Regions from separate parts of the Homo sapiens genome. Here region 2 is linked to region 1. Evidence: promoter capture Hi-C in human tissues and cell types (Jung and others, 2019). All regions are on one chromosome and are shown on one strand. The core of a region is centred on a gene start or on the middle of the fragment in contact, and the rest is flanking DNA. Distances in the headings are between cores, read along the strand shown. Region 1 holds the start of GTF2F2 (general transcription factor IIF subunit 2). Region 2 overlaps RUBCNL (rubicon like autophagy enhancer).

The links. Contacts are between HindIII fragments. The study calls those that stand out against the background at their distance.
Region 2: a contact is called between a fragment that was not itself captured here and the fragment with the promoter of GTF2F2 in region 1, in 1 of the 25 tissues and cell types used here (lymphoblastoid cells).

What each region holds. Positions count from the first base shown.
Region 1 is chr13:45,117,636-45,123,383 of GRCh38, reverse strand. It overlaps GTF2F2 (general transcription factor IIF subunit 2), which reads right to left and starts at 2,874. Exons shown (of 8, transcript NM_004128.3): 1 at 2,663-2,874. The coding sequence starts at 2,728. It also overlaps the pseudogene RN7SKP4. RefSeq lists enhancers at 1,959-2,600, 2,711-2,840, 2,601-3,244. The HindIII fragment of the contact is 5,168 bases long and covers 752-5,748 here.
Region 2 is chr13:46,335,774-46,341,521 of GRCh38, reverse strand. It overlaps RUBCNL (rubicon like autophagy enhancer), which reads left to right. Exons shown (of 15, transcript NM_025113.5): 15 at 1-5,748. Among named protein-coding and RNA genes, the nearest start is that of LINC00563, 41 kb to the right of the region's middle. RefSeq lists an enhancer at 2,331-2,410. The HindIII fragment of the contact is 3,450 bases long and covers 418-3,867 here.

The DNA.
Region 1 (5,748 bases), core at 1,625-4,124:
AGTGCTGGGATTACAGACATCAGCCACTGCACCCGGCCTGCCATAAGCTCTTCTTGAAAGCTTCTTTGGAGGTTCTAGCAGGGGAGTACAACCATACATATACCCTTGACTGAAGACCAGTCCTCCTCTATCCGGATGGTCATCCTCTTTGGTCAAGCGTGCAGCTTCGGGAGGGACATACATGGAGCAGTGTGGGAGGAAGGAGACACCCGCCTAGCCAGCCAGATTAGCCAAATCAACCCTAGTAATCAATGGGGTGACAGATGTCCCAGACAGATCACACTCACATCCATTTTTTTTTTTTGAGACAGGATGTCACTCTGTCGCCCAGGCAGGAGTGCATGCAGTGGCACAATCTTGACTCACTGCAACCTCCAAATAGGCTTTTCTTAAACGTCACCTTCTTTATGATGTCTTCCCAGTTCTGGTGAAGCACTAATTTTTTTCCCGCTCAAAACTCTCAGAGATCTTGTATGTATAGTTCTTACTGTATTTACACAGTTCTATACCTGTCTAGTGATGGAATTAAATATGTACAAGATGATCTATAAACCGTGAGATATCCTAGGAAGAAACATTATTTAGCAACAAAGATCAGAACTCAAGGTATTATTTTTAATAGGAAAATTAATGTAAGGAGAAAAAACTTGAAATCAATATGTACTTCAATTCAAATTCTGATTAGATGAGAATGAAGATACACTTTCTAAGCAACAAATTACACTTTTTTTTAATTTATTTATTTTTTTGAGAAGGAATTTTTGCTCTGTTGCCCAGGCTGGAGTGCAACGGAGCAATCTCGGCTCACTGCAACCTCCGTCTCCCGGTTTCAAGTGATTCTTCTGCCTCAGCCTCCCAAGTAGCTGGGACTACAGGCGCACACCACCATGACTGGCTGATTTTTGTATTTTTAGTAGAGATGGGGTTTCACCATATTGGCCAGGCTGGTCTCGAACTCTTGACCTCATGATCCACCCACCTCGGCCTCCCAAAGTGCTGAGATTACAGGCGTGAGCCACCATGCCCAGCCCGATCCTGTGATAATTTTCTAATTGTGACTCTGGTTACCCTCCCCTCTAATTCGTACTGCACACTGCCAAACATTTTTTTTTTTCCTGAATAAATATCTGGCATCTCTACCTCACTCAAATCCTCCAAAAAGTTCGTTACTTCCTTGTAAACTAAAGTTAGAATATCTCCGTTTCATGATATGACAATCTGAGTATATGGTCCCCATCTTCATCTACACAGATCTTCTGCTCTAGGTTCTCTCTGTTTTCCACAACACGCCATGCTGATTATATATTTTGAGTCTTGCATTTCTGTTCCATTCCCCATGGTATACACTGTGTCCACCCATCCAAATCCTGTAAGACAAACATTGAGCATTTACCATGCTCCTAGGACAATGGCACCATCTCAAGTCACACCATTTTTTCAAGCTTTTTCCTTCAGTCCGTAAGGGCAATCTCCTCCTTAGTGACTCTCCCCCCAAGTAACATGCTGCTGGAGAGAGAAATGCCTATTTAATCCATCCTTTTAAGTCACACTGAGTTTGGAAATAAGTCAAATGAGTGCCACAGACTAAGGCGAGGGCTGAAGAATGAGAGGTCATGCATTTATTCATCATCTATTTGTTGAGTAATTACCATGCGCCAAACACTATTCTGGGTATGACAGGCAAAGATCCTGTTCTCATGGAATGTGATTCTGTGTGTTGGAAAGACAGAGGTAACCAACTTTGAACATATGAACACAAAATCACTCTACACTGTGAAAAGTGCTTTGAAGAATGTAATACACATCTGTCGTGTTAGCAAATGATCACAAGGGGGCTGTTTTAGGAAGGCCGACAAGAAAGACCTCTTAGATTTAATTGACGAGAACTCAGCCATGTGATAAAACAGTTAAAGCATTAAGAAACCAAAAGTCCTTACATTTTAAGTTTCAACGACTTTCAGGATCACATTTTGAATATGCTTAAGTATTATGAAACTCCCCTAGGAGAAAACACTCCCCAATATGAAACAATAAAGCACAAATAGTGCTTACTGTGAGCTAACCAAAATTGCTGTCTTCACATAAAACGTTTATTGACGGCCAGTTTCACGAGACCCAAATGTGCTCTAAAAGAATACTCCAGTCCAATGACCTCTCCTTCTGTGAGTTTGGGGCTCTCTCGCCTCTTTTGAGAGCTTCATTAAGGACCATCAACCTAAGAGAACACTTTTAAGAGTAGGCAGGGACCAGTCCTACTTTCTGGCCGAGAAAACTGTACAGAAAGTAGACATTCAACTACCTCACGCAGGCTCATGGCTAAAACCAGTTTCACCAAGGGAAGATACAAGGAATTCTTCAGTCTGGGATAAAATGCACCGTCCAAATCTGGGGACACCAAGACAAGATTCCAGGAAAGCCGTGAGAAAGAGATCTAGTCCAGGCAGATTCAGAGTAGTAACTGGCTGAAAGACACTTTGCGTCCCTAAACTAATTCCTCGTCTGCAAACAGATACAACAATGACTCCTGCCTCTCAAAATGTGTGAAGCTCTAACGAGATAGCCGTAAAAGAACTTTAAGAGGCGCACGGAGCGGGATAGGCTCAAGTTACTTAAACTATACTTGTGTTAGGAGGAGCGCAAGTGGGAGACTCGCGAACATTACCTTGACTAGCCACACTCCTGTGTTCTGTTTGGCGCCGGTCAAGTCGAGTTCCCCGCGCTCGGCCATGGGTCTGCAGCCGGTGGAGGCGTGCGGGATGCAGCAGCGACCCCAGGAGCCGCAGGGCTGAGGAGCGGGCGTCCGGAACAAAGGACAAGCCGCGCTGAGAGGCGAAGAGCCGGCGTTCCTTACCTGCCAGAACACTGGGAACCGAGGAAAAGAGGAACACGCCGCCAGGAGCCGGGACTGCGCCTGCGCACTGCTACGTCAGTACGGCGCGCTGTTGCAGACAAACTTTCTGTTTCGGAAATTTCTTGAGTGGGCGTGGCTGTCCGCGATGTCTGCATCTGAGGGATTAAAACGTAGGGTGGGATGAGCTAAAACGTTAGCAATGTATTTAAAGACATGGTCAGCATAACTGAAGAAAAAGATTATCAGAACGGAAAAATGGGGTTCAAAGAGACGAAAGGTGTCAGAACATGTCCAACCCTAGCCAAGGAGAGAGAGACAATATTTGAAGGACAGGGTCAGGGTAGTAAATTGGCGTCCCTGGCCAACGTCATTAGCACAAATGGGCACTGGGATCAAACTTAGTAGCCTTGGGTATATTGAAAACATGCCGTTTCTAGACCTGGAAAAAAAAAAGCCGTGTTTCAGCTCAGAGGCTACCCGAGCTGTTCTGATGAAGCAAGCGGAGCACCTCAGTTTCCAAAACCCGGAAGTCTGTAACGAAACGAACAAGTAAGAGACAAACCTGATCGTTTCCTCCCCTGCTTAAACAGTTTTCTCTTTCTCTTATTGCCTCTAGAATAAAGTTCAATCCTCCTGCTTCAACTGGGCCCTCTCAATTTCATCTCTTTGCACCTCCCACCATCACTCCGCCATGCACCAAACCACATCAAACCCAGCAGACTTCCCTAAACACGTCAGAATCTTCGTCGGTCATTTCAGAGCCTCTGCACACTGGATTCCCTTCCCTTGGAAGCCCTATTTTACCCCTGCCCTCACTCTCACCCCTGTGCTCTGGTTGGCAAACTCCTACTTATGGTTCAAGACCAATGAAAATGTCACTTCCTATGAGATCTTTTATCAACTTCCCCAGAAGAAATTAGTTTTTCTTCACATCACAGTGTGATACTTAGCACTCTGAACTATAATATATATGTTTACATATCTGCCTTTGCTTTCCAGACAATGAACTCCTCCTAGGCGGAAAGAGCTTTATTGAGGTATAATTGACAAATAAAAAATAGTGCTTTATTCATTTTATATCCACAATGTCTAGCACAGTGTTTAACACATTGTCAGGTTTCAGTAGGCTTTGGGTGAAAGAACATTCGCTGAAGAGAAACAAACAGTAAGGTATTGTTAAGAATGGCAAGTAATTTATTGAATCACACATCAGAGCCTTGCACAAAATTGAGGAAATTTTATGTGTGTTCAGCATAGGGCCAGGAAAAGCTGTCAGAACTCTGCTTTTAGCTAGGAAAACTAATAGGAAAGATGGGAGAGACCAGGAGTGTGTTGAAGATGAAAGTTTCAGGCTAGGCTCAGTGGCTCAACCCTGTAACCCTAACTTTGGGAGACTGAGGTGGGAGGATTGTGTCTGCCCAGGAGTTCAAGGCTACAGTAAGTCATGATCGTGCCATGCACTCCAGCCTGGGTGACAGAGCAAGGTCCTGTCTCTAAAAAATAAATACTAAAAACAAAATTTTTTTGGCCAGGCGCAGTGGCTCACACCTGTAATCCCAACACTTTGGGAGACCGAGATGGGAAGATCACTTGAGGCTAGGAGTTCGAGACCAGCCTGGTCAACATAGGAAGAACCCTATCTCTAAAAAAAAAAGAAAAACAAAAAAAAATTTTTTTAAGCAGAAAATGAAGGTTTCTTCTTGTGCAACAACTTGGAAAAGGGCCTTTTTAAAACATATAAAGAGTAAGCAGATTAAGGGAACTGCTCTAAACTTTAATCAAGGAGAAGGAATAAATTGAAATATGAGACCATGGGAGAAGAGAAGCAAAGTCTAGAGCACCCCAGGAATGGACTTTAAAGATTGGAACCCTGGCTTTGGTCTCTGGGTCATGGGAGGCCTTAAAATGTGTACGTGGTGTGGGTATGTGTGTATGTGTGTGTACACAGAGATTGAGAGAGAAAAAAAATGGCTGATGAAAGGGCTAGCGAAGAACGGAAAAGTGGAGATTTTAAAATGATACATAGAAGAAAGAAAAAAACAACGTATTGAGCACCTCTTCCTCGTACGCTGTTGAACAAAGAGCAAGCTTCTCCTGTCTGTCCTTTTCAAACCCCTTCTAGCTTGAAGAGGGATGTTTACAGAACCCTGATAGAAAAGGAGGGCATGGCCCCTATGAACCAAATTCACAGATTTACTGTGGAGACCCTTAAGGTGGATAGATACTACAGGCAGATCCCTCACCTTCCTAAGGACTCATTATATGCCAGATCCTCAGCTAGTTATTTTCTGTATTATCCCATTTAATCCTTATAACAATTTGCCAGAGTAGGTATTATTTTTCCTCAATATAGCCCTATATGTCATTAAACATATCAACATCCAAGAGCTGAGACCATATCCCAGGATGGGGCTCACAGAGCATAGGATGCAGAAGTCAGTGCCCCAGAGAAGGTAACACCAAAATTTTTTACTCCCTCAGATGATTAACTAGTCAAGTTGTTACCAAAATTTTTAAGGCGCAAATGCAATTCTAGGAAGGAGGGCCCAAGAACTCATTGCTGGCTGCAATTTTTCCAAAAAGTCTGGTAGTGCTTAGGCCAACTTGAACCTCCATCTTTATCTAGGGCTTAGATTCTAGGTCAGACCTCAAGGCCACCCAACCTTCTTTGCTGCTTTGTTTTTGTTTTTGTTTTTGTTTTTAGGCGGAGTCTTGCTCTATCACCCAGGCTGGAATGTGCAATGACATGATCACAGCTCACTACAGCTTGACCTTTCGGGCTCAAGCTATCCTCCCACCTCAGCCTTCCAAGTAGCTGGAACTACAGGTGCACACTACCACACCCAGCTAATTTTTGTATTTTTTGTAGAGACGGGGTTTCACCATGTTGCCCAGGC
Region 2 (5,748 bases), core at 893-3,392, 1.2 Mb before region 1:
TGATGCTTTTGATTTTCTATTTTGAGGAAGAATGAGGTCATTTAAATAACTGCAGTATGGGATTTGTCTGAGACTTTGTTCCTCTCCAATGTGATAATAGAGGCTTCTTCCCAGGAAGGCACCTGTTAGGGAAGTGATCTTCAGCCCACATGGAGCACCCCATAAGGAAGTAATTAGTTGTGGCATATATAGCTGTTTAATGGGTCTTCCTGATTGTGTGGGTTTTCTGTTCAACTCTTCCTTGGCTGCCGGAAAGAAGATGAATGCTTGGTCAGACCATTACCCACTGTGAGGCATCAGTTGCAGTGCTGTAAAGGTCAGTGATTCATTTTCTGCCTCTGCACTCTTCACATGGGCAATTCCAGTAGTGTGTCATTTACAGTCATGATTCTCAACTGCAGGGAGGAAGTTACACCATCTCAAGGCAGAGGCTATAGGATGAGGAGGAGCAAGCCATCCCAAAGATGTCTGGTGTGTTGACCTGGGTGAGAATTATTGGCCACAACTTCAGATTAGATCCCAAATATGCCACTTTCTACCTACCCATGGTGACTTGGTGCTCTAGTTTGGCTTGTTTGACTCCTGCAAACCTCATGGTGAAATTTGATCCCCAGTGTTGAAGGTAGGCCTAATAAGAGGTGTTTGGGTCATGCGGGTGGATCCCTCAAGAATAGCTTGGTGGCACCTTTGTGGTGATGAGTGAGTTCTCACTCTTAGTTCCCATGAGAGCTGGTTGTTATGAAGCCTGGCACCTCCCTGCCCTCTCTTTGCCTCCTCTGTTTCCATACAAGGGGAGTCTGCACACGCAGGCTCCCCTTCCCCTCCACCATGAGTGGAAGCAGCCACAAGTCCTAACCAGAAGCAGATATTGGTGCGATGCTTGTACAGCCCGCAGAACCATAAGCCAAATTAACCTCTTTTCTTTATAAATCACCCAGCCTCAGGTATTCCTTTATAGCAACACAAATAGACTCAGACACTGGGGAAGCCATTTAAATTATCTAAGCCTCTGTTTGTAAAATGAGGGATATGACTCTCTGCAGTTGAGATAAGGATTAGAAATGAAAATGAAGCACCCACTAAAAGGCCTGGTACAAGCAAGGGCAAATGGTAATAATGAGGTCTAGACAGATTACAAACTGAGTCATACCCCTTATTTTCTGTATCTCTGGGTAAGTTACTCCCTGGGTCTCAGTTTATAATCTGTAATACAAGGATTAGAACAATAGCTACTGTTGTGGGTTGAATTGTGTCCCATGAAAGAATATGTTAAAGGTCTATGCTGGTGTCTGTGCTGTGGCCTTTTGGGAAGTAGGGTCTTTGCAGAGGTGGTTAAGTTAGGATGAGGACATAGTGCATTAGGATGAGTTTTGATCTAGTGACTGGTGTCCTTATAAGAAAAGGGAAATTGAGAGAAGAGAGAAGATGCAGGGAAGAAAAAAAGCAGAGGTTGGGGTGATGCATCTACAAGCCAAGGAGCACCAAGAATTGCTGGCAGCCCCCAGAAGCCGGAGAGAGGCAGGGGGCAGATTCTTCCTCAGAGCCTTAAAAAAAAAACCCAACATGGCTGACCCCTTGATTTCAAACTTCTGACATTGAGAATTATGAGAGAATAAATTCCTGGGGTTTTTTTGTTTTGTTTTGTTTTTGTTTTTGTTTTTTTGAAATGGAGTCTTGCTCTGTCACCCAGGCTATAGTGCAGTGGTGCGATCTCAGCTCACTTCAACCTCCGCCACCTGGGTTCAAGTGATTTTCCTGTCTCACCCTCCCGAGTAGCTGGGATTGCAGGCGCACGCCACCAGGCCTGGATAATTTTTGTATTTTTAGTAGAGACGGGTTTTCACCATGTTGGCAAGGCTGGTCTCTAACCCCTGACCTCAGGTGATCTGCCTGCTTCGGCTTCCAAAAGTGCTGGGATTACAGGCCTGAGCCACTGCGCCTGACCCTGTTGTTTTAAACCACCCAGAGTGTGGTCATTTGTCTGAGACTTCGGAATTCAAACCTGCTGGAAGGAACGTGGTAGACATGTCAGGAAGGGGTTTGACATTCAGTTTCTGCCCCCAGGTCTGAGCCTGCATGGCTGGCTTAGCCACCGTCAGATGCTACCTGCAGGAAGCCTTCCTGAACTCATCGCCAAAGGAGGGTGAAGTGTGTCATTTTTAGAAGCGTGCTTCCTTAAAACAAGCATTTAAGGATCTCTGTCTTTAAATAATTTCTCAACTGGTATGGGAAGGAAAACCGTAGTTCCCCTTTTTCACTTCACTAGAAACTAAAACAATACTTTTATGAGTAATGCTGAGGTAGCAGGCTGCAGACACAATTGGGAAGCTTCAGCACAAACATGAGAAATCGAGAACCTTTGCATCCTCGCATATCTGGGCAGCTCTCCAAGCCAAGGGGACTGAGGATTGAAGAGCTTAACCACATAGGTTAAGCAAATTGTGTATTTTTCCTTGCACTTTTTTTTTTTTTTTTGAGACAGGGTCTCGCTCTGTCGCCCAGGCTGGAGTGCAGTTGGCGTGATCTCAGTTCACTGCAGCCTCTGCTTCCCGGTTCAAGCGATTTTCCTGCCTCAGCTTCCCTAGTAGCTGGGACCACAGGCATGTGCCACCATGCCCAGCTAATTTTTTTCTGTTTTTGGTAGAGACGGGGTTTCGCCATGTTGGCCAGGCTGGTCTCAGAAGTGATCTACCCGCCTCGGCCTCCCAAAGTGCTTGGATTACAGGTGTGAGCCACCGCGCCCAGCCCTTCCTTGAACATTTTCTGGCCTCTGCTTGTGCTTCCAGGCTTCTTTCTCCCCAGGGCTGCCCCCTCTTTTCTAGTCCTGCCGTGTTCCTGCCTCCATGGTCTTGTTCTTCTTGCATCCCTTGCCTGGGATCAGGACTGCCCTTTCATCCTGGAAAGAGGCCCTGCTCTGGCCTTCCTCGGGCTACGTACATCCCCATTGGTGAGGAGACAAAGGGCAAGCGCACCCAAAGCCCCCACCCCTCCTGTTAGATCAAATGGAGCCCCAGACAGAATCCCCTGCCCTGTGGTCTCAACCCCACTTTTAGGGCTGCTCAGGTCTTTCCCCTGGTCCAGCCTCCTGAAAGTGAACTGCGCTGCTAAGACCAAGAGGCAGCCAAGGGGCAGCTGCTTGTAGGATGGAGCCAAAGTGGGAAGAGAGAGGGGCAGGGGTTGGCCCAATGCTAGCTATACCTGAGCCACCATGCTCCAGAGCAGAGCAGTGAGGAGTCAAAGATTTCAAAATTCAAACCTGCTTTCTCGGGTCCTGATGAAGGGATATTCACCATGGTAGGAAGATAAAACATATTTCAAATTTTAAATACTTGGATATATGGCATGTGGACCTGTATTTGTACTCTTGCATGGGCTCTGCAGATGGGAGTGGTGGGCGCTTCCCCTTTTCATCTCCCTCCCGATCTTGCCCATTCTTCAGCGTACTGCACGTGCACACACATGCTCCCTTCTCCTTACACTCTGATATCTGCATTTACCTCATTATTCTACTGGGGACAGCTCTCTGAACTTTTGGCAGCCTTTGATCCTTTCTATCTGCCCTTGAAAGTCTCTTGGAAGCTATGAGAGAGACTTTATTCTCCCTTTGCTCCTGCAGCCCCTGAAGGTCCACATTCCTGAGGGCCCTACCCAGCTCCCTGAGTGATTGTTTGAAATAGAACTACTCAGGAGTGCGGTGCCTGCATTGGACTTTTTACAAGCAAGAATAAACCTTTATTTTGTTCAGTTCCTGAGATTTTTGTGGGGCTGGTTCCTACAGTGTAACCCACCCTACTCTGACTAACATAAGATGTCCTGATACCTGTTGTCCAGGGGATGAGTACTGAGGGAACAGGTTTGTCACTGTCGTAGTCTGTTTAGGCTGCTATAATAAAATACCTTACGCTAGGTGGATAATAAACAACAGAAACTTACTGCTAACAGTTCTGGAGGCTAGGAAGTCCAAGATCAAGACAACAGCAGATTTGATGTCTATTGAGGGACCACTTCCTGGTTCATAGATGGCACTATCTCACTGTATCCTTACATGGTAGAAAGGAGAGAGAGCGGACCAGGCACGGTGGCTCACACTTGTAATCCCAGCACTCCCAAAGTTGAGATATATGCCTCAGGCTGAGACAGGCATATCACGAGGTCAGGAGATTGAGACCATCCTGGCCAACATGGTGAAACCCAGTCTTTACTAAAAATACAAAAATTAGGTGTGGTCGCAAGTGCCTGTAATCCCAGCTACTCGGGAGGCTGAGGCAGAAGAATCGCTTGAACCAGGGAGTTGAAGGTTGCGGTGAGCTGAGATCACGCCACTGTACTCCAGCCTGACAACAGAGTGAGACTTGGTCCCCCCTCCCTGCCCCCAAAAAAAGAAAAAGGAAAAGAGAGAGAGAGAGAACCCCCTGGGGTCTGTTTTACAAGGGCACTAATTCCCTTTGTGAGGGCCTCACCCTCATGACCTAATCACCACCTAAAGGCTCCACCTCCTAATACTGTCACAATTGGGGGTTAGGTCTTCAACACATGACTTTTGAGGAGATATAAATATTCAGTCCATAACAGTCATGCAGACATCAAAAACTATTCTACTCCTCTGAGTTATCCATATTATCTAGTATTCCTTACATTAAAAAATAAAGGAATATGCAGAGAGAAAAAAATTCTTTAACCTCACATTCCTTTCCAGTTCTACCTCTATGATCTTCTTCACAGCAACATTTTTGAAAGAACAGTTTTTAATGTTTGCCATCGCTTCCACACCTCTTTCTTCCTTTACCTACAACAATAGCATTTCCATCTCAACCATTCTACCCAAACCGTCAAGGTCACTAGCAATATCTAAATTCAGTAGTCACTGTATTGTCTTCACCTACCTCTCTACCACAGTTGCTTGCATTCTTCTTAACAAAAGAGAATACTGTTTTATAATAAAATATAATAAAATAAAAAAGTCTAGCTAAGAAAAGCTAGACTATAATGAATTTCATCATATTGTGGTGGTGATTATCTCTGTATAGTGGGATTAGAATAATTTTCAAAAATTTTCTTTGTAAATTTTACCATATAGACTAGATATCATTTTAAATAAATGATAGATCATTTAAACTAATGACAAATTACAGATGATAAATGAGATCAGTACTATACAACTTTTAAGAGTAATGGTTGCATTTCTACTGTCCATGCCCACAGTGGAGAAATCAGATTAGCTGTTGGGGACCACCTGAAACTCCATCTTCGTAGAGTCTGATGATGGAGGTGCTGCCTGGTACCCAAAGCTCCTGGTTTTCTTGGTTATTTAGTAAATTACTAAAGACCACGTGAACCAAAAAGAACAGGGCCGGCTGTCAGATAGACCAGATGGATGGATGCAACCATTCACCTTCCTCCTGGAAGCTTTGGAACCCGGAAACATCATGACATTTGTGATTTCTCCCCTTCCTCTGTAGACAGTGGTCTCTTTTCTTGGTCTCCTTTGTAGGTTTTCCTCTTCTTTCTCTGTCCATCTCTAAATAAAGACAGAGATTCCAGGGCTCAGTTTTGCCATCTCTTTTCTTCTCTTGGGATGGTCTTATCCAGTGAAATAGCTTTGAATGACTCTAAATTTGTAGCTTCAGCCCAGAGGCTGGTACTCAGCAGCCCACTGATAGCTGTGCTTGTATTAGTATTTCTTTACAGGCTTTTCCATCTCAGAAAATGGCACCACCATAGACCCAGTCGCTTAAGCCAAACACCTAG